Linked DNA regions of Homo sapiens: regions 1, 2, 3, 4, 5 and 6 are each linked to region 7. The links are contacts of gene promoters, found by promoter capture Hi-C in blood cells and fetal thymus (Javierre and others, 2016). All regions are on one chromosome and are shown on one strand. The core of a region is centred on a gene start or on the middle of the fragment in contact, and the rest is flanking DNA. Distances in the headings are between cores, read along the strand shown.

The links. The method cuts DNA at HindIII sites, captures the fragments that hold promoters and counts their contacts. A CHiCAGO score of 5 or more calls a contact.
Region 1: a fragment that was not itself captured here is called in contact with the fragment with the promoter of NUP107 in region 7 in 1 of 17 cell types (fetal thymus); the score reaches 5.1 in fetal thymus.
Region 2: a fragment that was not itself captured here is called in contact with the fragment with the promoter of NUP107 in region 7 in 14 of 17 cell types (megakaryocytes, monocytes, naive CD8 T cells and 11 more); the score reaches 9.9 in megakaryocytes.
Region 3: a fragment that was not itself captured here is called in contact with the fragment with the promoter of NUP107 in region 7 in 1 of 17 cell types (M1 macrophages); the score reaches 5.1 in M1 macrophages.
Region 4: a fragment that was not itself captured here is called in contact with the fragment with the promoter of NUP107 in region 7 in 2 of 17 cell types (M1 macrophages and megakaryocytes); the score reaches 5.9 in M1 macrophages.
Region 5: a fragment that was not itself captured here is called in contact with the fragment with the promoter of NUP107 in region 7 in 3 of 17 cell types (M1 macrophages, M0 macrophages and monocytes); the score reaches 7.4 in M1 macrophages.
Region 6: a contact is called between a fragment that was not itself captured here and the fragment with the promoter of NUP107 in region 7, in 11 of 17 cell types (total CD4 T cells, megakaryocytes, total B cells and 8 more). The highest score is 8.0, in total CD4 T cells.

Annotation. Positions count from the first base shown.
Region 1 is chr12:68,173,962-68,177,026 of GRCh38, forward strand. No RefSeq gene overlaps it. Among named protein-coding and RNA genes, the nearest start is that of IFNG, 16 kb to the left of the region's middle. RefSeq lists an enhancer at 1,947-2,006. The HindIII fragment of the contact is 8,282 bases long and covers 1-3,065 here.
Region 2 is chr12:68,317,289-68,320,741 of GRCh38, forward strand. All of the region lies in intron 7 of MDM1 (Mdm1 nuclear protein), which reads right to left. Among named protein-coding and RNA genes, the nearest start is that of MDM1, 13 kb to the right of the region's middle. The HindIII fragment of the contact is 5,517 bases long and covers 1-3,453 here.
Region 3 is chr12:68,280,819-68,284,018 of GRCh38, forward strand. No RefSeq gene overlaps it. Among named protein-coding and RNA genes, the nearest start is that of IL22, 29 kb to the left of the region's middle. The HindIII fragment of the contact is 8,720 bases long and covers 1-3,200 here.
Region 4 is chr12:68,297,039-68,300,260 of GRCh38, forward strand. All of the region lies in intron 13 of MDM1 (Mdm1 nuclear protein), which reads right to left. Among named protein-coding and RNA genes, the nearest start is that of MDM1, 34 kb to the right of the region's middle. The HindIII fragment of the contact is 466 bases long and covers 1,395-1,860 here.
Region 5 is chr12:68,241,442-68,244,663 of GRCh38, forward strand. No RefSeq gene overlaps it. Among named protein-coding and RNA genes, the nearest start is that of IL22, 11 kb to the right of the region's middle. The HindIII fragment of the contact is 5,664 bases long and covers 1-3,222 here.
Region 6 is chr12:68,216,017-68,219,450 of GRCh38, forward strand. All of the region lies in intron 3 of IL26 (interleukin 26), which reads right to left. Among named protein-coding and RNA genes, the nearest start is that of IL26, 8.1 kb to the right of the region's middle. The HindIII fragment of the contact is 700 bases long and covers 1,329-2,028 here.
Region 7 is chr12:68,685,218-68,688,277 of GRCh38, forward strand. NUP107 (nucleoporin 107) reads left to right here and starts at 1,761. Exons shown (of 28, transcript NM_020401.4): 1 at 1,761-1,856. The coding sequence starts at 1,849. LOC100507250 (a long non-coding RNA gene) reads right to left here and starts at 1,642. Exons shown (of 3, transcript NR_038930.1): 1 at 1,520-1,642; 2 at 646-800. It also overlaps the pseudogene RPL7P42. The HindIII fragment of the contact is 6,312 bases long and covers 1-3,060 here.

The DNA.
Region 1 (3,065 bases), core at 448-2,947, 510 kb before region 7:
CAGTTTCTTTAATTAAGATTTGGCATCCCCAACCATCTCATCTGACAAGAACAAGCAAGGGGGAACATATTCCCTATTTAACAAATGGTGCTGGGAGAATAGGCTAGCCATATGCAGAAAATTGAAACTGGACCCTTCCTTAAACCTTATACAAAAATTAACTCAAGATGGATAAAAGACTTAAATGTGAAACCCAAAACTATAAAAACCCTAGAAGAAAATCCAGGCAATGCCATTCAGAAGATAGGCATGGACAAAGATTTTATGACAAAAACACCAAAAGCAATTGCAACATAAGCAAAAATTGACAAATGGGATCTAATTAAAATAAAGAGCTTCTGCACAGCAAAAGAAACTATCATCAGAGTGAACAGACATCCTATAGAATGAGAGAAAATTTTTGCAATCTAGCCATCTGATAAAGGTCTGATATCCAGAGTCTACAAAGAAGTTAAACAAATTTACATTAAAAAAAAACTCAACCCCATTAAAAAGTAGGCAAAGGATATGAACAGACACTTCTCAAAAGAAGACATGCATGCAGCCAACAAACATGAAAAAAGCTCAACATTACTGGTCATTAGAGAAACGTAAATCAAAATAATAATCAGATACCATCTCATACCGGTCAGAATGGTGATTATTAAAAAGTCAAGAAAAAATGATGCTGGTGAGGTTGCAGAGAAAAAGGAATGCTTTTAGATGGTTAGTGGGAATGTAAATTAGTTCAACCATTGTGGAAGACAGTGTAGCAATTCCTCAAAGATTTAGAAACAGAAATACCATTTGAACCAGCAATCCCATTATTGGGTGTATACCCAAAGGAATATAAATCGTTCTATTATAAAAACACATGCACACATATGTTCATTGTAGCACTATTCAAAATAACAAAGACATGGAATCAACCCACATGCCCATCAATGATAGACTGGATAAAGAAAATGTGGTATAAATATACACCATGGAATACTATGCAGCCATAAAAAGGAATGAGATCATGTCCTTTGCAAGAACATGGATGGAACTGTAAGCTGTTATCCTCAGCAAACTAACACAGGAGCAGAAAACCAAACACCACATGTTCTCACTCACAAGTGGAAGCTGAACGATGAGATCACATGGACACATGGGGGGAACAATACGCACTGAGGCCTGTTGGGGAAGTGGGGTGAGGAAGAGCATCAGGAAGAATAGCAAATGGATGCTGGGCTTAATATCTAGGTGATGGGTTGATCTGTGCAGCAAATCAGCATAGCACACATTTACCTATGTAACAAACCTGTACATCCTGTGCGTGTACCCCAGAACTTAAAATAAAAATTGATGGAATAAAAAAGATTAGGCATCCCAAAACTTAATGATATATAACTTGTCCTATTTGAAAATTAGAAACATCATTTGCTAATTAGAATCATAGATCATGACTTATATGCTGGTCATATTTATGGTTGCATTAGGAATCCTATCAACCACAAAAAAAGTATGCCCTGCACTCTGTCTTTTTTTTCCTAAAAAGAAAAATAAAGCCAATCACAAGAGGGAAAATCTAAATGACATTTCACAAAGTGTTCAATCTATGCTTCCATTAGGAAAGTGAAAGAACCCAAGAATGGGAAATATTTCTTGTCACCCCAGGTGAATTTGAAGAAGTATTTTTCTGGTTGGCTTTTTCAGCAAGACTAACAACATTCTGTTCTATTGGCCTGTGGTCAGGGGTTTCCCCCAAGGTGCCTTCCATCTCTCGGCAAAGAGCAGTAACTTGGTGGGTTGTTTTCTTCTTAGTCACCTGATAGGATTTCCCAGGACAGAGGTGTCAAGCCAATTCTGACCTAACTTCCCATGTCCTTCCTGTGGGTCACCCTGAGAAAAAAGGAAATCGCTCTTCTCCCCCACCTGGTGCTGATGTCATTCCTCTCTTCAGCCCAGCGTCTCAATGCACTCAGGGACGCTTCTGCCTCTGCAAAGAGCAAAGGCTTCAAGTGATGGCCTTGCATGGTAGCATTCTCTATCACAGAGTCAGGAAGCTCTTAGACTTCCTTTTATTTGAAGAACTGCAAGGAAACCACCTGCAGAGCTCCCAAGACCTCAAGAGTTTGTTTTGCACCTTCGCTCTTCTGAGGTAATCACACCTGCTGCCACAGCTTCAATAGCTGAAGCCAAGGAGTAAAAATTGCACCAACATCTATAAATCCATATGAAGCTGAGTGGTCTGAATAACCTTACCAGATGTTTTTCTCATAGAAGAAAAAAAGTCCAAGTTATCCTCATGTGCTTTTCTTCCTCACTAGGTTTTAAGGTCCTAGAGAGTATACACTGCCTCTTAGTCTTCTTCATCTATCTCAAAGTGCCTGGCTGAGTGCTTTACATGAAGTATCCAATAATTCTTGACCATCAGACCTGGGGGGTGGAACCAGCAGGGCCATTTAGCCAGGGCTGCAAGCCCAAACAGATCTCTATTCTTCAGCTGCAAGTTAGTGCCCAAGCCACATAGGGAATAGGATGATACCTCATTACACATGCTGATGTTAGCTTTAAACTATGCCTGCCCTCTGTTTTCCTAAAAGCTGTGTTACTGCCAATCTCAAAAGCTGCTGTTCATAGTCATTCACTGTTGGACATTAATGACAAATCACTTTCATGAACTGACATCCATTTAAAGGGATTTTTTAAAAATGTGTTTATCTCATAACTGCTCCTGTTTATATGAGGATCCTGTCTTCTTTGAGATTATAATGACAACAAATGTTATTCGTTTTCTGCACTATTCATATAAACAACATAACTGGGCATAATACTTTCATGATATCATGTCATTACTAATAAATCACCTTTTTAAAACATCTCTATGATAGTATCATGGTTAACAAACAGCACAGACAAAGGAGCAAGACTGAGTTTGAGTCCAGGCTCCATCTTTTACCAGCTGTGTAAACTGTGTGAATCTAGGCAAGCTCCTTAAAGTCTCTGGACTCTACTTCACAGGTTTTTTGTGGGATTCAAATGAGTTATATGTGCAGCTCTTGGAATAATACTTGGCATATAGCAAGCACAATGTGTGCTCA
Region 2 (3,453 bases), core at 255-2,754, 370 kb before region 7:
TTAAGTTCAAGTTTTACCCTTAAAATTCTGTTCAGTATCTTTATTTAATCTCAAAAAACACTAATTTTTTAAATCATCAAGACAGAAAATCTTTATTCTAGAATTGCTTTTCTTTCAGGGCAAAAAAAAAAGCAAATAATGAAACAGCAATGTAAAAGCAATTGTAGAAACATAGCTCCTTAACAAGGTACGATTTTGAATGCAAAGATGAAAGTGTTACATCTCTAGGGAATTGGCCAAAGCAAAAGACAGCACCTATATGGCATAAGAAACCATATAATCCCAACAGAGTCCTACTCTAATGAACCATACCTGAAAAAAGTTCCTAAAGGATAATTTGAAATATTTTCTTCACTGCCAAAAAAAAAGCTATGTTCATTTATCATTTCTATCAACTCCTATACCTTTAAAGAAAATTTCTAGCAGTGGTTTTTGCATTTAACAGGTAGAAGTGAGGTACATGAATTAACTCTACTGAACTTCTAACCAGGGTATTCTGAATGCACAGGAACCTTGTTATAAAGTGCCTCGATATACTCCAGATTTTATTGCCAGTAAGTGCCCCCATGCTTCAAATGTTTCAGGGCCACTCCATCACCTACATGCCTCAGCATCACTTCCTCCTCTGTGTTCTCAGAGTTCTTTGGGCACATCCCCATTAATACATATTCAATTTTACTGGAATTAATTGCACATGCCCTCCTCCTCCATCAACCTATGAACTTCTTGAGGTGAGGGAAAACGCAGCACTTAAGCACTGAGCCCACAACCTGTCCTGAGTGCAGACTAAGTGGTATGCCTGAGCTAAACATGGCAGCCAAAGATAAGCAAGAAACTCCCTGCACTCAGTGAGCCAACCTGTACATAAATTGTCATAATATTGATGGGGGTCTATGCCATAATAAACAAATGAAATGAAATGTAAGTTGAAGGAGTAGTTCAAAAGGGGGACCAATCAGTCCTGCACTGTGTTGGGTAGATTGACGGGGCAGTGGGGGTGGAAGGGACAGCAGAGGCAGCTGCATCTATCCATGCATGATGAATGAAAGGATGGATGAATACCCTCCATGTACACAGTCATCCAGTTTTATTTGACGTCAATTTTATTTAGAAAGGAGGGGGAGAGTATACTTCATAAAAATTCTGAAGACTTTGATTTATTCAGTTCTATTTGTTACTGACATTTAAAACTAAGTGCTTTAAATTTACTATATCAACAATCTTTATTAATCTCAGTGCTAATATTATATTTTACAAATATGATTTTAAATATCTTTAGCCCTAAACTAAGATGAAAAATTAAAAGGCTGACATTTTCCAAAGTAGTATGTTCTACTAAAAAGAGGAGGAAAAAAATCAATAGCATGAACTCAATGTTAAATAGAACAATCCCTATAGCCAACTGCCAGAGCCACCAAAAAGGATAGAAATAAACCATTCCCAACTCAACAACATACACACACCTTTCTGGGCCAAGTAATGTTATCATATTATATATTATGATACAATTATAAGTAGAATGTTTCCTTTTCTGAATTTCTTTGTCCAAATTAAGAGTTCAACTAAATTATTTAAAACATATGCAGAAAATTCAAACTCAAGAAACTGGGGATAAAAACTCCTTTTACCCAAAAACCATCCCCCCAAAATGAGGGGTCACTTTATACCTAGTCTTTACAATGTCTGTCAAATTACAGGACATCTCTCAAATGCAGGACTTTATCTTGAAACACAGTCCTATTTGTGGAAGACACATTGGAATAAAATCACCTCAACCAATCGATGATGAAAAGATTACCTAACAATTAAGAAAAAAAGAAGTTTAACATAGATTAAGTAGTTATTCTGAGGATAGAACCTAAAAAGTTCTAATTGCTGACTATTAAGAAACAATCCCTTAAGTGAGCATTTTAAAAAGCAATAGTCAAGTGGTTATTATAATGGAGATGACAAATACACAACCACTGGGCAAATAAAACCAACCACCCTAATGCTCTATGAGAGGTAACTGGGACTTGGCATAGAATTTCCAGTGACTAGACTATAAACAGATTCAAAAAGTATATCTCAAACATAGAAAGAAATAAAGATGATATATGGACTCGAAAACTAATGTGACTCAAAAAGTGAGTTAATATTCCAACAACAAAGTCACTTATGTCTGAGTGCATGTGAGGAGTGTGAATACACTCCTTCCTGAAATGTTAGGAGTGGGAAAATGAAGGAGTACTGTACCTTATATTTAGGAACCTCATAATCAGATGCCTATAGTAAATGACTTCCAAGAGATATAAGTAAAACATGGCTCATATTAAATGTCTATAACCTGGTCAACTAAAACTGTTATCATCAATGATCACTGACTTCTTAGCTAAAAATTCTTATTCTTTTCCAACTTCAATTTACTTTTTGAATTATTTTTCTCAAAGAAATTAAGGCAAACTATACCACTAATTTAAATATTTACAACCACCATTATAGTATTTAATAAGCAAAAAAAGCTGCATTACCAAGATATCATAATAGGAAACCTTGAAAAGTCTATCTTAAATTGACAACAACAATGTTCTCTTCCATCAAGGCAGGATAAGGAATCTCATCTTACTATGACTTCAGTTTTAACAATCTTCTCAATTAGATGTTTAGTTCTGATGCCTAAACTCATCTTAGTTTAAAGAAATCGCTGCTCGGCCTTTTGGCTGAGATCAAGCGTAGAAATCTCAGAGAAAACACAGTCTTCAAAACAAAGAGTTTCTCATAACCTCAACCTAGTGTCACGCCTAAACACAACAGGCCAGCGGCTGACATCAATTTACCAGCCACACATACTGTTCTGCCTCTGTCCTGCTTTTCCTCACTCCCACTATCAGACTCCTCAGTCAGGGAGATCTTTGCCAAGACTTGGGATGGTCATAAACTGCTCAAGAGTTTAGCTGACTCACTGCCTTTCTTCCATCACGGGTGCTTTCGATGCTCCTAGTTTTAACTTGATTTCACTAAGGTGAATATATGAACATTGCCCCAGATAATATCCGGGACAGCTTTGAGCTTTGTCTTTTACTTTGCCTGTGCTGTCTTCAGGCCGTGCTCAAATAGAGAAGTAGAAAGAAAGCAAAAGAGTGGCCACGGTGGAAGGAATCAAGTGACCTCCTGAAACAATATGCAGACAGCATGGCAGTCGCCAGGACATATGTCTGGGAGCTGCAGCTCAAAGAACCAGCAGCTCAGCGCACCCGAGCACCAGCCCCTTCCCCCAGAGGCTGATTATATATAATTGTGGGCCATGGTTTTAAGTAATGAGCTAAATAAAAGACTCATTCCCCATCCAAATTATCCTTCTGTTTACAATGACAGGGGGAAGTGGGATGTTTACTTATGTCTAAACAGAAACATTTTAATTTAGCTTGTTCTCACAGAAAAGGCAAAAAAAAGTCAAGATATGATTTGAAAGAT
Region 3 (3,200 bases), core at 27-2,526, 400 kb before region 7:
CAATGTCTGACACATAGTAAGTGCCCAGTAAATAGAAACCATTCATGTGATTTGGCCTGTACTAAAGGGAGCCTGTTCTCTATCTCATCAAGGCTGCACATCATTGCAAGGTTTTGTTGTTGTTTGTTTGTTTGTTTGTTTGTTTGTTTGAGATGGGGCCTCACCATGTTGCCCAGGCTGGTCTCAAACTCCTGGGCTCGAGCAATCCTCTTGCCTTGGCGTCCTGTTGCATTTTGAAGGAGGGATATCGGATACTTGCACTATCTCCCTTTTATTTTATTTTCCATTTCAACTCATATTTTAAGTTAAACAGTAAAACCCCCATTTTCACAGCTCCTGATGGAGCCATGTGAGTGAAGGTGTGCATGTGAGTGAGGCTAGTCTCCCAAGAGAACCTACTCTTCATATGCAAACCTGGAGGGGGACCCCGCACAGCAGGAAACAGGCCACTTAGAGCAATTTAATCCCGTGTGAAAGAAAATCTAAACTAAGTTTGGACATCTTTGATTGAACTCAGCACATCTTTTACAACCAGTTAAATCATTAGACTTCAGAAAATCTTTTCAATGTGGGTGCCAAACAGCCAGTTTGGCTTTAGCTGTTTTGTAATCACCTTGGTTCCTCAATTTTCTCATCTCATTGTTCATGTTAACCGTAATATCTGTACCTAAGGGAAGATTCCGTAAATACTTTACTTGGTAACTAAGAAATGAGCCACTACCAGAGAAATCATTTCACTGCCACATCAGTGCAGGGGAGTTTAGCTGTTATTTTCTCAGATATCATAAGCTCTAAGAGGCTGATGCTTATCTGAGAATCCCATTTAAGGAAATTGCGCATGCTTAACTCTAGTGGTGTTTCTATGGCCATTTCACAATTATATAAGGAGGAATCAATTTAATAAGAACTTTATTGGAATCAATACATTTGATTGGCCTAGTTTCACAAGCACCTTGGCAATGCCACATTCTCAAAAATCAGCCACATATGAAACCAGTGTGCATGCAAGGATAGTTATCAAGTACTTAGTGAAACTCGCTAAATTATCAAAGAAGATGGGGGAGGCTGCTATGACTTGGAAAGGCCAGATGGAAAGAAAAGCATAGACTGAAACAGAGTCACTTCATAGTTACACACTGAGGCCCAGAAGTAGACCAATCTCATTTTAAATTTTTCCTCTGCCCCCTACTAATTTTGTGAAACTCAGAAAATTTCTGAACCTCTCACCTCAGGGTCCTCCTCTGAAGGATAAGGAAAATCATAGTAATGGGAAGTAATGAGGTCATTTGTGAATCTCAGAGGTAAAGAGATTATTTGTGAAGGCCACTTAGTACAACACTTAATATAAGCACCCAAAACTACAGATATTATTTAATAAAGCTGCCACATGTAACCTGATAAATCTGTCAAATACAAATAATAATTGTCCTTATTTCTTATGGTTATTGTGGTCCTAAGTGAGTTAATGTATATAAACAGACTAGAAGTGGGATCCTCATGAGCTCAGTAAGTGTAAGGACTATGATAACAAAGAATCCTCCTCCTATTACTATAATTATTATCCAGTCCTTCTTTAGGGAAGAAGAAAAATCAGCCTGGAATTGAAATTTTAACTTAATCAATAGCTTGAGCCACCTCAATTGCTGATATTTTACCACTTTTTACCTGCAAAAAACTAGCAATTTCTTTCTTTCTTTTTTTTTTGAGACAGAGTCTTGCTCTGTCACCCAGGCTGGAGTACAGTGGCTTGATCTTGGCTCACTGCAACTTCTGCCTCCTGGTTTCAAACGATTCTTGTGCCTCAGCCTCCTGAGTAGCTGGGATTACAGGCATGCGCCATCACATCCAGCTAATTTTTGTATTTTTAGTAGAGATGGGGTTTCACCATGTTGGCCAGGCTGTTCTCGAACTCCTGGCCTCAAGCGTCCGCCCACCTTGGCCTCCCAAAGTACTGGGATTACAGGCGTGAGCCACTGCACCCAGCCAAAAATAGCAATTTCTTATGGTTCAATTTAATAATTGAATTTAATGTTCATTTAATTTAAACCTGCTGTCTCAAAGAAGCAAGTGCAACTTTTCTCAGTACAACTTAATTTCATGTGTGATGTCTTAAGGTTGCACTTTTAAGGACTAGCCCCTTAGACTGGGTATTTTCATCTAGGTCACCACTTTTTTTTTGTTTTCTAGTCAGGATCTCGCTCTGTTGCCCAGGCTAGAGTGCAGTGGAGCGCCATCACAGCTCACTGTAGCCTTGACCTCCTGGGCTCAAGTGATCCTCCCACCTCAGCCTCCCTGGTAGAGTAGTCAGAACTACAAGTACATGCCACCATGCACAGCAATTTTTTTCATTATTTGTAGAGATGCGGGTCTCCAAATGTTGCCCAGGCTGGTCTTGAACTCCTGGGCTTCAAGCAGTCCTTCCGCCTTGGCCTCCCAAAGTGCTGGAATTACAGACATGAGCCACCGCATCCGGTCATAGGTTACCACTTTTGACATTTATGTAGCTGCCACCAGGTGCCTGGTGGTGCCCCAGCCTCAGGCTCCGTGGGACAGCCAACTGAGCTCTCCTAGGCATACCCAAAATACAGCTGCATTAACTATCTAGTGCAATTATTTTTACCAAGCTCTAATTGCTTAGTAAAAGCAAAGTAATATGCAATTTAGACTAAGGTTTTTTTATAAATAAAAATAAATATGTGGGTCCACTGTGACACCATTCTTATACTGACATAGTTGAATGGCTGTCTTTGCGTGTTTAGAATAAACTTGGTATTCTTTATTCTTCTCTAATGAAAACCTTTTCATTTTTCACTTATACCTCAAATGTCAAAAAAATTGTATGAGGCTCCTCAGATCTAGAGTCAGAATCTCTTGCTGTCAGTTGAACTTTGGCATGTAACTCTCAGCTGGCTACTGATTTCAGAGGAAGCTGGAGGTGCCCACTCATCCACCTCTCCAAAGCAGTAGAGATGAATGTAATGTGGCTTTGAAGGTAAAAGACCTGAGTTTGGATTTCAACTTAGCCTCAACTTTCTTACTGGCAGAAGAAAGACAGTACTCACAAGATCATTCGAAAGATTGAATTAAATAATGTGGACTCCTCATGGATCTAGAGTCAGAATCTCTTGTTTTCAGTTGAACTTTGGCATCTAACTAACTCTCAGCTGGTCACGGATTTGAGAGGAAGCTGGAGGTGCCCC
Region 4 (3,222 bases), core at 378-2,877, 390 kb before region 7:
TCAATTATATACTAAACTGTTAGTAAAAGTAGGCTGTCAGAAATTTTATTAATTATCAAACCTACATGTGAGTAAAGGTTTAAGAAATGAAAAAGATTTTATTAATTAATTTTATATCTTAATAGAAATTACCATAAAAGGGCCATTCATAATTTATAATGCACTTAGCAAGCATGTAAACAAACTATGGATAACTTCCTAATATTCTTTCCAATGATAATATTGATCTATTCTAACTTTAAAGAAATGTAGTAGGCTTCTGATTAGAGATGGTAAATTAAATACACGCATTTACAAGAAGAACAAACTCATAGGACAAAGAGAATGGGAGCAAATAAGACAGCAAGAAACTTTTTGGAACATGGAAAGCAAATGGAAGAGCAGTGAGTGTATAACTATACCCAAGTAAGTGGAAGTTTAAGCCAGCAGAAGAGTGAAACCAAGAAACAACCAACTTGTTCCCCTGATGGCTCTGGGTTTGGGCATACTGAGTACCACTGAAAGTTGGAGTGAAGGGAAGACTGAACCAGGAAGCTGCCTAAATATGTTTTTACAAAAATAGTTAATATGCCAGGTCCTCCTTTAAATTTGCACAGCTGGGTAGTTCCCTCTTTCCCAAAGAGGCATGGAAGTTTCGTCTCTAAAAGTTTACCAGAGATACTTTGACTGAAGGATACCAGGTTCAACTGTGGGCAGGGGTAATGTATTCAAAACAGAGGCATTATATGTATCATTTTCCTCTTCAAAGAGATAAAACATTCCATTCATGAAATAAGAATGGGATGCTGTATAAAAGCAATATGCAATGTTCAAAAATTCTTAGAAATTAAAAAGAGCAAAAATCTTTTTAAAAAACTAACAGACGGCATGTGGAGAGTCAAAGAGCAGACCCACCTAACCCAGCCCCTGCCTGGCTGTGCCCCTCCACAGCTTAACAAAAACGACATAAACTTTTGGGAGTTTTATAACCCTGCCCAGGTGTGAGAAGCCAGAATACCTCCCCTGGGCAACACAGGGAAAGCTCAATTACCACTGCTACTACTGCAGCTGGTGCTCTTTTGCAAGCAGCACCTCCTGATTAGAGGCCAACTGACACAGTCCATTATATCATCTCTAGGTAGAATAACGCTGTGCCCAGAAAACCAGTGCCTGACCTCAGCTATCACCACTGCCTGCAACACCCTAGCTGACCAGTGGTCCTGAATCTGTCTACGTGACAAGTTCACAACTATCATAACCAACACGCAAGAAAGCCAGCACCCTAAGCCTATCTACAACCAAGGAATCTCAGGAGTCCCAGATCTTTCCACTGGTGGGAAGTTTCTTTCAGCAGAGACACAATTGCAGTGCTAGGCTCAGCAGGGAGTCTACCCCATCACCCCAACAGTCAGGCAAGCTTAGTGCTCATGAAGGGTCTTGGAGAAGGGGTCTTATTTCCCCTTGTCCACCACTGCAGACACAGCTGGGACTTCTCCCACAGGACTCGGTATGAGTGTGCCTATAGACAGCCTTCCTGGAACACTTTAGGGTGACTGCTTCCCCACAGGAGGAGCACTCCCCAGATGCAGGCTTGCATGAGAGGCAGAGTCACAATTCCTATCTACTTGGATAGCATTCTCACCCTTCACCCTGATAAGACCTCACTGCATTTAACTGAGAGCTCCCCCAGCCACCTTCATCAAGGCTGGGACCTGTGCCCACCAGTGGGTATTGCATTCACCCACCTACCTTAGCCACAGTAAGTTCCTACCCAGGGATACCTCCCCTAATGGCCTGAAGCCTGAACTATCAACTCAGTAAACAAAATACTGGAGAAAAATTAAATAAATGAAAAAGTACACACCACAGGGGAATGAGATAAGCTTCAAGAGACCTCTGCCATTCCAACCCCACAGGAGACAGCGAACTTGCCGACACACTGAGTACACAGCTACTACAACCAGCAACTGAGGAAGCCATCATACAAAGACTCTCTATAACCAAAGAACTTATAAAGACTCTTCACCCCTAAAAGCACCAAGAACCAAATTAAACTATAACAAATTATAATCATTAAGGTCACATTCTTAAGAGGGGAAAAAAATTTTAAAAAAAACACACATAGTCAAATCAAAAATAAATTTGAGAACAATTAGAATAGTCTACCCAAAAAAGAAGGAACCAGAAAGTAATTCTAGTAATATGACAAAACAAGGTTCTATAACACCCTCAAAAGATCACACTCACTCTCCAGTAACTGATCCAAACCAAGATGAAATCTTTGAAATACCAGATAACAAATTCAGAAGGTTGATGATTAAGCTACTCAAGGAGCTACCAGAGAAAGGTGAAAACCAACATAAAGAAATTAAAAAAAAATTCAGGATATGAATGAAAAATTTCCCAGAGAGATAGATATCATAAAGAAAATGCAATCAGAACATCTGGAAATAAAAAACACACTTAGAGAAATACAAAACGTAGTGGAAAGTTTCAAAAATAGACTAGAACAAGTAGAAGATAGCTGCATGCCAGGTCCAAGAGGGAGGAAAAAGCAGAAAAAAGAATTTCAGAGCTCAAAGACAAGGCTTTCGAATTAACCCAATCAAACAAAAATAAAGAAAAAAGAATCAAATGAAATGAACAAAGTCTCCAAGAAATATAGGATTATGTAAACAACCAAATGTAAGAATAAATGGTGATACTGAGGGAGAAGAAAAGGCTAAAAGTTTGGAAAATTCCTTTGAGGGAATAATTGAGGAAAACTTCCCTGGCCTTGCTAGAGATTTAAATATCCAAATACAAGAAGCTCAATGAACTCTTAGGAACTTCATTGCAAAAAGATCATCACCAAGGCACATAGTCATCAGGTTATCTAAAGTCAACATGAAGGAAAGAATTCTAACAGTTGTGAGGCAAAAAGCATCAGGTAACTTACAAAAGAAAAACAACTAGACTAACAACAGACTTCCCAGCAGAAACCTTACAAGGCAGAAGGCATTGGGGTCCTATCTTTAGCCTCCTTAAACAGAACACCTATCAGCCAAGAATTTTGTTAGTTTAGCAAAACTAAGTTTCATAAATGAAGGAGAAATAAAGTCTTTTTCAGACAAACAAATGCTGAGGAATTTGTCACTACCAGACCAGCACTACAAGAAATGCTAAGTAGGAGTTCTAAATTTTGAAACAAAAGCTTGATATGCAACAAAACAGAACCTCTGAAAGCTTAAAACTCACAGGGCC
Region 5 (3,222 bases), core at 612-3,111, 440 kb before region 7:
TAGAGCAAACAGGACTTCTGACACATTCAATGTGCAGGGTTAGGGAAGGAAAAACCAAGGTTGACTCTAGCTACTTCTGAAATATATCAGAATATAAAGTCTCTCAGTTTCTTACCTTCCAATTTTAGGGGTAAATATTCTTCCACTTATAGCTCAGTTTCCAGAAGACTGGCCAAAAAAAATATGATATCAACTTTTGCTCTAGTCATTACATGGAGACTCATTTGGAAAAGGAAAGACTCCTTAACCTCAGCTAATCACAGAAAAAAAAATATTATAATTCTATCATCCCTGAAAGGGAACATCAGTGCCTCTCAGCATTTGGAACCTGCCATGGGTGAGCAGCAACTATCTGAGGCCCATGGTACAGGTGGTAAAAGAACTTACCAAGACAGTTGTAGGTAAAGAAAGGCAGATTTATTAGAGAAAGTATGATAATATGTTGCAAGAGTGCAATGGGCAAGTTAGTAAAAGACGGGCTAACTGCCGGGAAACAAAGGCTTGCTGGGGATTTTGTAGACTGGAACGTGGGCCGAAGAGTGCTGCCTGCAGTACTGATAACGCCAAGGCTGCAGGGAGCTAACTCGCCGGTGTCTGGTGGTAAGCTGGGCACAGGAGGGCTATATGTCCTGGACCATGAAGAAAAGCAGACTTTATAGCTTATCTACTTGCTTTTTTTGCTTTCCCTCAGTCCCACCAGCCTAACTCCTTTTCCTTAATTAGGACTTCACATTCCCCCCCTAACAGAGCAAGAATGACAAATCTTTGGCATGTGAGTGAAGGTCTCATCTTCCAACTGCTTCCTGCTGACCAGAAGTGAAGAGTTGGCCCTACCTAGGATTGCTGCTCAGTTAGGAGGTTCCATGGGTCTAAATCCCTAAGTTAGGACTTAAATTGAGCCGGGTTGCTGTGAGACTATGGGGGAACCGCATTTGCAGCCTAAAATTTTGTTCTGCTGCATCCAAAGGAGAGTCATGGAGTTCTTTTAGAAGCTGATATCCCTCGCTGCAGTAACATTTTGGTTTGAGATTATTGTATTCTAGAAGACGCAACATGAGATATTGCAGTAAAAATATGTGGTGCAAGTAAACAAACTAATATGAACATTATTATAGGGGGGAGAAGTTGGGCAACCCATGGCCAAACCCAGCTGGAGAAATTTTGAATAGTTGTGCCAAAAAAAAAATCTTGACGAACTCTTTTTTGAAGGCCCTCTGATACCTTGATATTCTCTTTTACCTTTTTTAAACTTTCTTCTATTTGACCTGAAGTATTGATGTAAAAGCAGCAGGTTTCACTTAACAGCACACAAGTGCCTCCTGCCTTGGTGGTAAGCACATCTAAAGCATGTTGATTCTGCAGGACAACCCCTGACAATGAAATTAGGGCCTGTTTCTGGGCCTCAATGGCTGTGACTTTAGGTTTCCAAGATTGCTGGACTAAGATGGTGAGTGTATTAGTCTGTTTTCCTGCTTCTGATAAAGAGATACCTCAGACTGGGCAATTAACAAAAGAAAGAGGTTTATTGGACTCACAGTTCCATGTGGCTGTGGAGGCCTTATAACCATGGCAGAAAGTGAAAGGCACACCTCACATGGCAGCAGACAAGAGAAGAGAGCTTTTGCAGGGAAACTCCCCTTTTTAAAACCATCAGATCTTGTGAGACTTATTCTACTATCAAGAGAACAGCACCCATGATTCAATTACCTCCCACTGGGTCCCTCCCACAACATGTGGGAATTCAAGATGAGATTTTGGTGGGGACATAGCCAAACCATATCAGTGAGATTACAAATGCTGTGCTTGAGCATGGGTATACCTGCAAACCAAGAGTCCACTGACTATAGAATATTCTAGACCATTTCTCTCCATAATGGGATTATCAGTGGCAAGGATGCCAAATGGTGGGAGGTTAAGTTCCACTTTTGTTTTCTTTCTTCTGATGATCTTTAGAGGGCTCCACTTAGGAAGAACACCAAATTTGGAACTTGGCCAGAGGTTATGAAGTTCGAGGAGTTATATATATGCGCTCCAGGTATGGCTGCAGCTGTAGTACAGGTGCCCATCCACTTAATAGGCAAGGCTAGAAACATGATGGATACCCATAAAAAGAAGAACCCAATTCCTTTTAATGAAACTCCCAAGGAGGGACTTTGTAACCAGGCATAGGCGTGATCAGTTTGGATTCCAGTATAATTTGCATAAATAAGGGGATTTCATGGTCCCCGGGGATTAAATGTGAACGGGCAATGACCGAAAAAGTAGTTATCCACACATAAGGGAGTCAAAGTTTCACTTGTTGTGTTGTGTAAATATGGGGCCTGACAGATAAGAGTTCTAAATATTAATTGGTTAAAGGAAAATCGAGGAAAAGCTGTATTAGTGAGGTTAAGAAGTTGTCCAGTTTCAACCCCTATTCCTATATATTCCATCCCAGTTGCTAAACTATTTACAGGCATAAAGGAATCATTTTAAATTTTGCTGGCATTAACTTTGTTGTTTTCCCACCATAGAGAAAACCTGTGGAGGTCCTCGGTGAACTCATCAGTCATCATACAGCTCCCATTCCTGGTGTGTCTCTTTATAGTTGAAGGTGTAATTACAATGGGCTTGTGTTAAAGCCCCTAGGAAAGGGCCAGGCCCTTCTGAGTTTCTGAAGTCTCACTTTACAGGCCATTTCTGGTGCCTTCCCTATTCACTGGGTTACAGTGGATGATTGCCATGAGAGATCAATTGGCCTAGGTGCCCCCCCTATACCTGTGTTTTTGGTGTACGTGTACATAGTGTAGTCAAATCCAGAGTATCAAGTATTGGGCTTGCATGGTAGCCATTTCTTCTCTAGAGAGTGGGATGGCTAGGAATGTAATGTTATTCTCGACTGCCTGCCTATGTGGGCATATCCAGCAGTTAGTACGATGTGGTATGTTAGTAACCTGAGATATTACTGGGTAGAGCAGGTGCCTGGTTGCAGCCATTGAGGCAATAGTTAGCCATGATAGACACCAACAAAACAGAGCCATATTTAAGGAAAATGACAATATATAGTAAACTTAGAAAAGAAGAAGGGCTGCAAAGAGTATGAGAAAAACAGTTAAACAAATACCTAGTATCTTAGCACATCAATGTTGTGGTTTAGGGGTAAATAACATTACTAGGACAAGTATAAAGAAATTTCGGCCCTGACACCTGTAAACCCAGCACTTTGGGAGGCTGAGGCGGGCT
Region 6 (3,434 bases), core at 429-2,928, 470 kb before region 7:
GCGTGGTGGCTCACGCCTGTAATCCCAGCACTTTGGGAGGCTGAGGTGGATGGATCACAAGGTCAGAAGATCGAGACCATCCTGGCCAACATGGTGAAACCCCATCTCTACTAAAATACAAAAAATTAGCCAGGCATGCTGGCACACGCCTGTAGTCCCAACTACACAGGAGGCTGAGGCAGGGGAATCGCTTGAACCCAGGAGGTGGAGGTTGCAGTGAGCCAAGATTGCACCACTGCACTCCAGCCTGACAACACAGCAAGACTCCGTCTCATAAAAAAATAAATAAGCTACTACTATAAATTATACACATTATACAATATAATACTAATTTTAAGCACTAAAAAAGTATCTGATTACTTAAGAGAACCACTCCTTCGTAAATTGTTGAGAAAATGTAATTGGAATAAAAATTAATGTTCTGTGCATGAAAAGCAATAAAGGAAGCACTAACAATTCTGCAGAACTACTACATGCTAGGTACTTAATTCTCCCAACGACCTTAAGATGAGGCTACTGTTATTGAAGACACAGGTTTTAGACTTTGCAGCTGATAAAAGAATAAGACAGGATTGGTCTCACTCTTGCTTTATCAGTTCAACCAGTTGCAATTTTTACAATTTTAAATTACAGGGATGAATGAATGGTATTATTTTACAAGTTGATAAGCTATTTGCAATTGATGATACAAGTTACTTATTAAACAGTCTACAAAAAATGGAAACACAATATTCTGTTTGCCAATTTTTGCCAGACTTTAAAATTAATTACATGCAACCGACATGAAGAAATGTGTCTCTCTAAATACCAATTACTGTTCAGGCTCTCAAAATGTTAATTAAAGTAGACGATGAAATCTTAAAAACTAACAGAAATTATTTTCATTTCTATTTTGATCACTAGCAATTAGGTAAATTATTTTATGAATCCAATAAGGTGACTGCTAAATTCTCTTTCAAGTCTGAGAGTATTTGAGTTCTGTAAGAATCTCTAAAATGTCTTCTTACATAAACAATTTTCCAAATATTATGGCTAGGAAAGAGTATAAACATAAAGAAGTTTACATTACACATAACTTATTTTTTGAACAATTATACTATCTGACTTACCCAAATCAAACTAATTGGAAAATATATTTTATTAGGTGCTGCAAAATGCTTAGAATGTCACCAGAAGCAATGAGAGGATGTCCAAATACAGTGGTACTGGGAATTCCAGTCCTTGGAGTCTATCATGATAATTTGTCATGCTGTTTTATCTTAAGAGTGGCTCAAGAAAACGGACTTGCAAGGAAGCCCAAAAGGCAGGTACCTTAGAGAAATCAGATAAGCTTCACAAAAATAAGAAATAATTTCATGAGTTAATAATGAAACAGAGAAAATGACAACAAAATTAATAATTCATTGGTCATTATGGGAGAAAATCAGAAAACCAACCACTTATGTTGAAAGCTAGCAAATAAAGGAAGATAATTAAGTATTTAACCTGGCTTTCTTATATGATAAGTTCCTCAGAACATCCAAATAGGAGTAGATTCTATTTATTGAATTATCCCAGCTTATGAGTAAAGAAGATAAAATAGAATTTAAAAATTATTATTTTGTAGTGCCTTATGAATTAACGGATCTAGACAATAATTGTCAGGGGTTGTTATCATCGTAAAAATAAAGATCATACATCATGTGACCCAGTGAAAGCAAACAATGCTACCTATAAAGTGTTCTAGCTAAAACATCAAGCTAAATCTGATCAAGTCTCTCTGTATAATTGTTAATGTATGGTAAATAAAGAGGAGAATATATTAAATGACACTATGAAAATGCAGTCAGAAAATACAGACTATGAGAAACTCTGTGAGACAAATGGCCGAATGTCCTGAACAAATACATTTCAAAAAGGAGGAAGAGAAGGAAAAGAAGAAAGGAAAGCAAAATCATAGGAAATATGGTAGAGTTTACAGAAATGTGTTGCTTCAATGAGTGGCAAAAACAGCACTAGACTAAACAATACTTTGGTCCTGCCTAACAAAGCTTAAACAACAAGATCTGAAAAGATCAAACTGTTTGCAACTAATTTAACTGTGTCCCAGAAGAAAACTCAAGAATATTTACAGAAATATAAAAATGTCTAGGATCCAACAAGGTAAAATTCATAATATTTGACATTTGATCAAAATTACCAGCCGTGCAAAGATGCTGTAAAATATGACCCATAACGAGGGAAAAAAATCAATCAATTGAAACCAACCCAGAGTGGACACAAATGTTACAATTAATCAATAAGGATATTTTAAAAGTTGCTATAACTCTATTCCATATGTTCTAGAAGTTAGAGAAAGACTGATCATGTTCAATAGAGCAATGGAAAATATTAAAAAGACTCAATTCAAACTTCTAGAGATAAAAACTACAATGTATGAGGTGAAAAATATTCTGAATGGGACTAACAGATAGGCACTACAAAAGAAACGATTAGTGATCTTGAAGATGTAGCAATAGAAACTATTCACAATGAAACACAGAAAAGACTGGGAAAAAACAACCCACAGAATCAGTGAGCTGTGGGACAACTACAAATGGGCTAATATATGTGTAATTAGCATTCCAAGAGGAGAAGAGACAGAAGGAGATACAGAAAAAAGTTTTTGAATAAATAATGCTGAACAATTTCAAATTTGATGAAAACTATATACTCACAAATACAAGATTCCCAATCAACTCCAAGCACAAGAAGCCTGAAGAAAACTACATCAATTCACATCATAATCAAATTGCTTAAAACAAGTAATAATGAGAAAAATAAAAGGCACGAATATGTTATGAGTAAAAGGATGGAAAAAGACATAGCACACTAACATCAATCAAAAGAAAGCTGGAGTGATTCTATTAGCATCAAAAAAGAAGTGGATTTCAGGACAAAGAATATTATTAGGGACAATAAGGGTAATTTTATAATGATAAATGTGTCAATTCATCAAGAGAATATAACAATCATAAACATTTCTGTACCTAATAACAGAAATTCAAAATACATGAAGCAATATCTGATAGAACTTCAAGAAGCAACAGAAGTTCACAATTAATGTCAGAGATACCAATAATTGATAAAACAAGTAGAAAAAAGTTAATAAAGAGAGAGAAAAAGTAAAAAGCTGTCACAACTAAATCTAATTGAAATGTATAAAATACTCAGCCCAACAATGGCAGAATACATATTCTTTTCAAATATACATAGAACATTTACCAAAATAGACCAAATTCTGGGTTATGAAACATGGATCAGCAAATATAAAGGGATTCAAGTCATACAAAGTATGGTCTCTGGCCAAAATGATATCAAATTAGAAATCAAAATTAGAAAAGTATCTAGAAAAATTCCCACATATAAAAACTAAATAACACTCTTCTAATAACCCATATATAAAAGAAAAAATA
Region 7 (3,060 bases), core at 511-3,010:
TCAGGAGGCTGAGGCAGGAGAATCGCTTGAACCCAGGAGGCAGAGGTTGCAGTGAGCCGAGATGGCACCACTGCACTCCAGCCTGGGCAATGGAATGAGACTCCATCTCGAAAAAAAAGAAAAAGAAAAGCAAGGAGAAAGCTACATCTATGAAAAAGCTAGGCACTGTCAGATGTGGTGGCTAACCCCTGTAATCCCAGCACTTTGGGAGACCCAGGTAAGAGGATGGCTTGAGCCCAAGAGTTTGAGACCAGCCTGGGCAACAACATAAGACCCCATTTCTCCAAAATATTTTTAAAAAACGGGGGAGGAGAGGAGGTCAGGCATGGTGGTGCGTGCCTGTGGTCCCAGCAACCTCAGGTACTAGGGAGGCTGAGGTAGGAGGATTGCTGGAGCCCAGGAGGTCAAGGCTGCAGTGAGCCGTGACTGTGCCACTGCACGTAAGCCGGGACAATAGGACAAGATCCTGTCTCAAAAAAAAAAAAAACAAAGAAAGAAGGAAGGAAGGAAACATAATTTAAAAAATCAAGTCCAAAAAAAAGCAAGCAAGAAGTAAAAAAAAAAAGCTCAGCACTGTCACAAGAAATATATGGCAAGAAAAGCTGGCAATTTCTATATACCTGTGAAACCCAAATTGTCACTTGCCTTAAGGATCAAATGTATCAATGGTGTGAGCCCAAAACTCTGTTGCAACTTCTTCACTTTCCCCAGATCTTCAATGGCAGCTTTGTTAAACTCAACAAGGCTTCAGTTAACACGCTGAGGATTGTGGAACCATATATCACATGGAGTACCTGAACCTGAAATCAGTAAATGAACTGATCTACAAATTGGTTATGGCAAAATCAATAAACAAATTACCTTAACAGATAACGCTTTGATTGCTAGATTTCCTGATAAATATGGCATCATCTGACTGGAGAATCTGATTCATGAGATCTATGCTGTTGAAAAACTCAAGTTCCTGTGATCCTTCAAATTATCTTCTCCACGAGGGAGAATGAAGGACTACCTATTTTGTATTAATAAAAGGTATAAATGCCAGCAACAGAAAAGACTATATCAACAGGCTTATTAAACGGATAAACTGAAGCATCTAACATTATTTTTGTAATCTGGTCAGTTAATAGCCAGTCACTACTTTCAAACTGGAAAAAACAAAAACCAAAACAAAAATGTGACTGACTCCTTCAAGACCAAAATACACCACTTTTTGCCTAGACGGCACTTTGAAATAGAGGGCAATACCATCATATTTCACGCTTGCCTTTCTACTTTTTAATACAGGTGAACTTTTTCTCCTTAATAGGAAAGAACACCAAGTAAAGAACAAATAGCAGTTATGGAAAATAGTTGCAAAAACTGCAGGGGGCTACAGAACAAAGGACTGAGTGTAGGCAGAGAGATAGAGATCCCCGAGGTGTGGGGCAGAGCCCACGCATCTGAATTCCAAGAACAGGCGCTTTCTGACAGAGAATACCAGGAAATGACTTCACATTTTTCCAGACTATCAACATACTTCATTCTTCCCAGTAGGAGAACCCAGGGCCTGTTCCACGCCCACAGACTTTGGTCAGGCAAAGCGGCCGCAGGGCGTCTGGGCTAAACGCAACCAGGAACACATTGGCAAACTTTTGCGCCTGCGCCCACCGGGCGTGCACCTGTAGGCTGAAGTCGCGCATGCGCTAGATGGGAACGTTGTTTCTTCTCCCCTACCCCTTTTCTGTGGGTCTGTTTTAGGGACAGACTGCTTCCGGGTCGAAGGGCTTGCTTCCGGAGAGCGGGAAGGCTAAAACGCGGTAGCTAAACTGCAGCCAACTTTGGTTGTGTGTGGAAAAGGCTTTAGCCATGGACAGGTCAGTACTGATGGTGGCAGCTGAGCCCGAAGTCTTGCCCGTCTCGCCTGTTGGCGAAACGAAATAGGTGAAACTAGACTCCCAGAAGAAGCCAAGGAGGTCCCGGGTGCTTCCCCTAAGGCTCCTTCCCCATGCCGGGAAATTTGGCCACAAATGGGGAAAAAGCCGCTTGGCGTGCGTCGGGGTGGGGTACAGATCATAATAGTCCCTTACTTTCCCACTACGTTCTGCGATCTATTCGGCGCTTTGGGGCAGCAACACTGTTCGCTCCTGGGGTGGGCGGGGTAGGTAGCGCGGCGTTCGAAATGCTAAGTGACCAGCCTGAGATCACAAAGCCAGTCAGTGAAGATACTGGGATCTCAGCCCAGACTTTCTGATTACAAGTGCCAGCATCAGATTCTGAGTTCCCTCTATGATCTGGGTACTGTGCTAGCCGCCTACAACAAAGATCAGTTATTCAAGATCCTTCCCCTCGGGGAATTAGTTGTGTAATGGAGACAACCAAGCAGTGTAAAGTGGTAAGTGTTTGGGGGCGATTAAGTCTCCTTGTCACTGTAACTATCAGGAAGACCCCTCAAAGAAGGTAACTTTCTAGCTGGTCTTTGAATAATAAGAGTACATTATTCGTACTCCAAACATTGAGTACCTACTATGTGACTGCCATTGTTCTAAAGGCGTTGAATATATATTATTAGCTTATTTAATCTTCAGAACAAGAAAAATCCTATGAGATGGGTACTGTTATCCTTTTTTCATATATAACACTGAGACTAAAAGAGGTTAAGGAACTTGCTGAAAGTTCGGAAGCTAATAAATACAAGAACCAAATTGCCAACCTGCATCTGTGTGTCTCCAGCCTACCTGAGGCTCTTTGAGGAGTAAGTAGTTGTTGACCAGGTGCTCAAGGGGGCAAATGTAGGTCTTTGTAAAAGAAGCATATTCAGAGGTGCTAGGATATGAAAAAAAAGTACGTGTAGCTCAGTGGTCACATGCAGTATACGTTTAAAGTGATGTTTGTGGCTGAATAGAAGACTGAACCCCTAAACTGGGGTCACATTGTAAATATCATTTTAGGAAATTTTTACTTCTATAGACCAGAGAGCTATCTGAAGGTTTTTTTTTTTGTTTTTAATTTTAATTGTTAAACGTTTAAAATTGTTTCTATGTGGTTGTTTCCCATACTTTCCTGCTGAAGGAATATCTG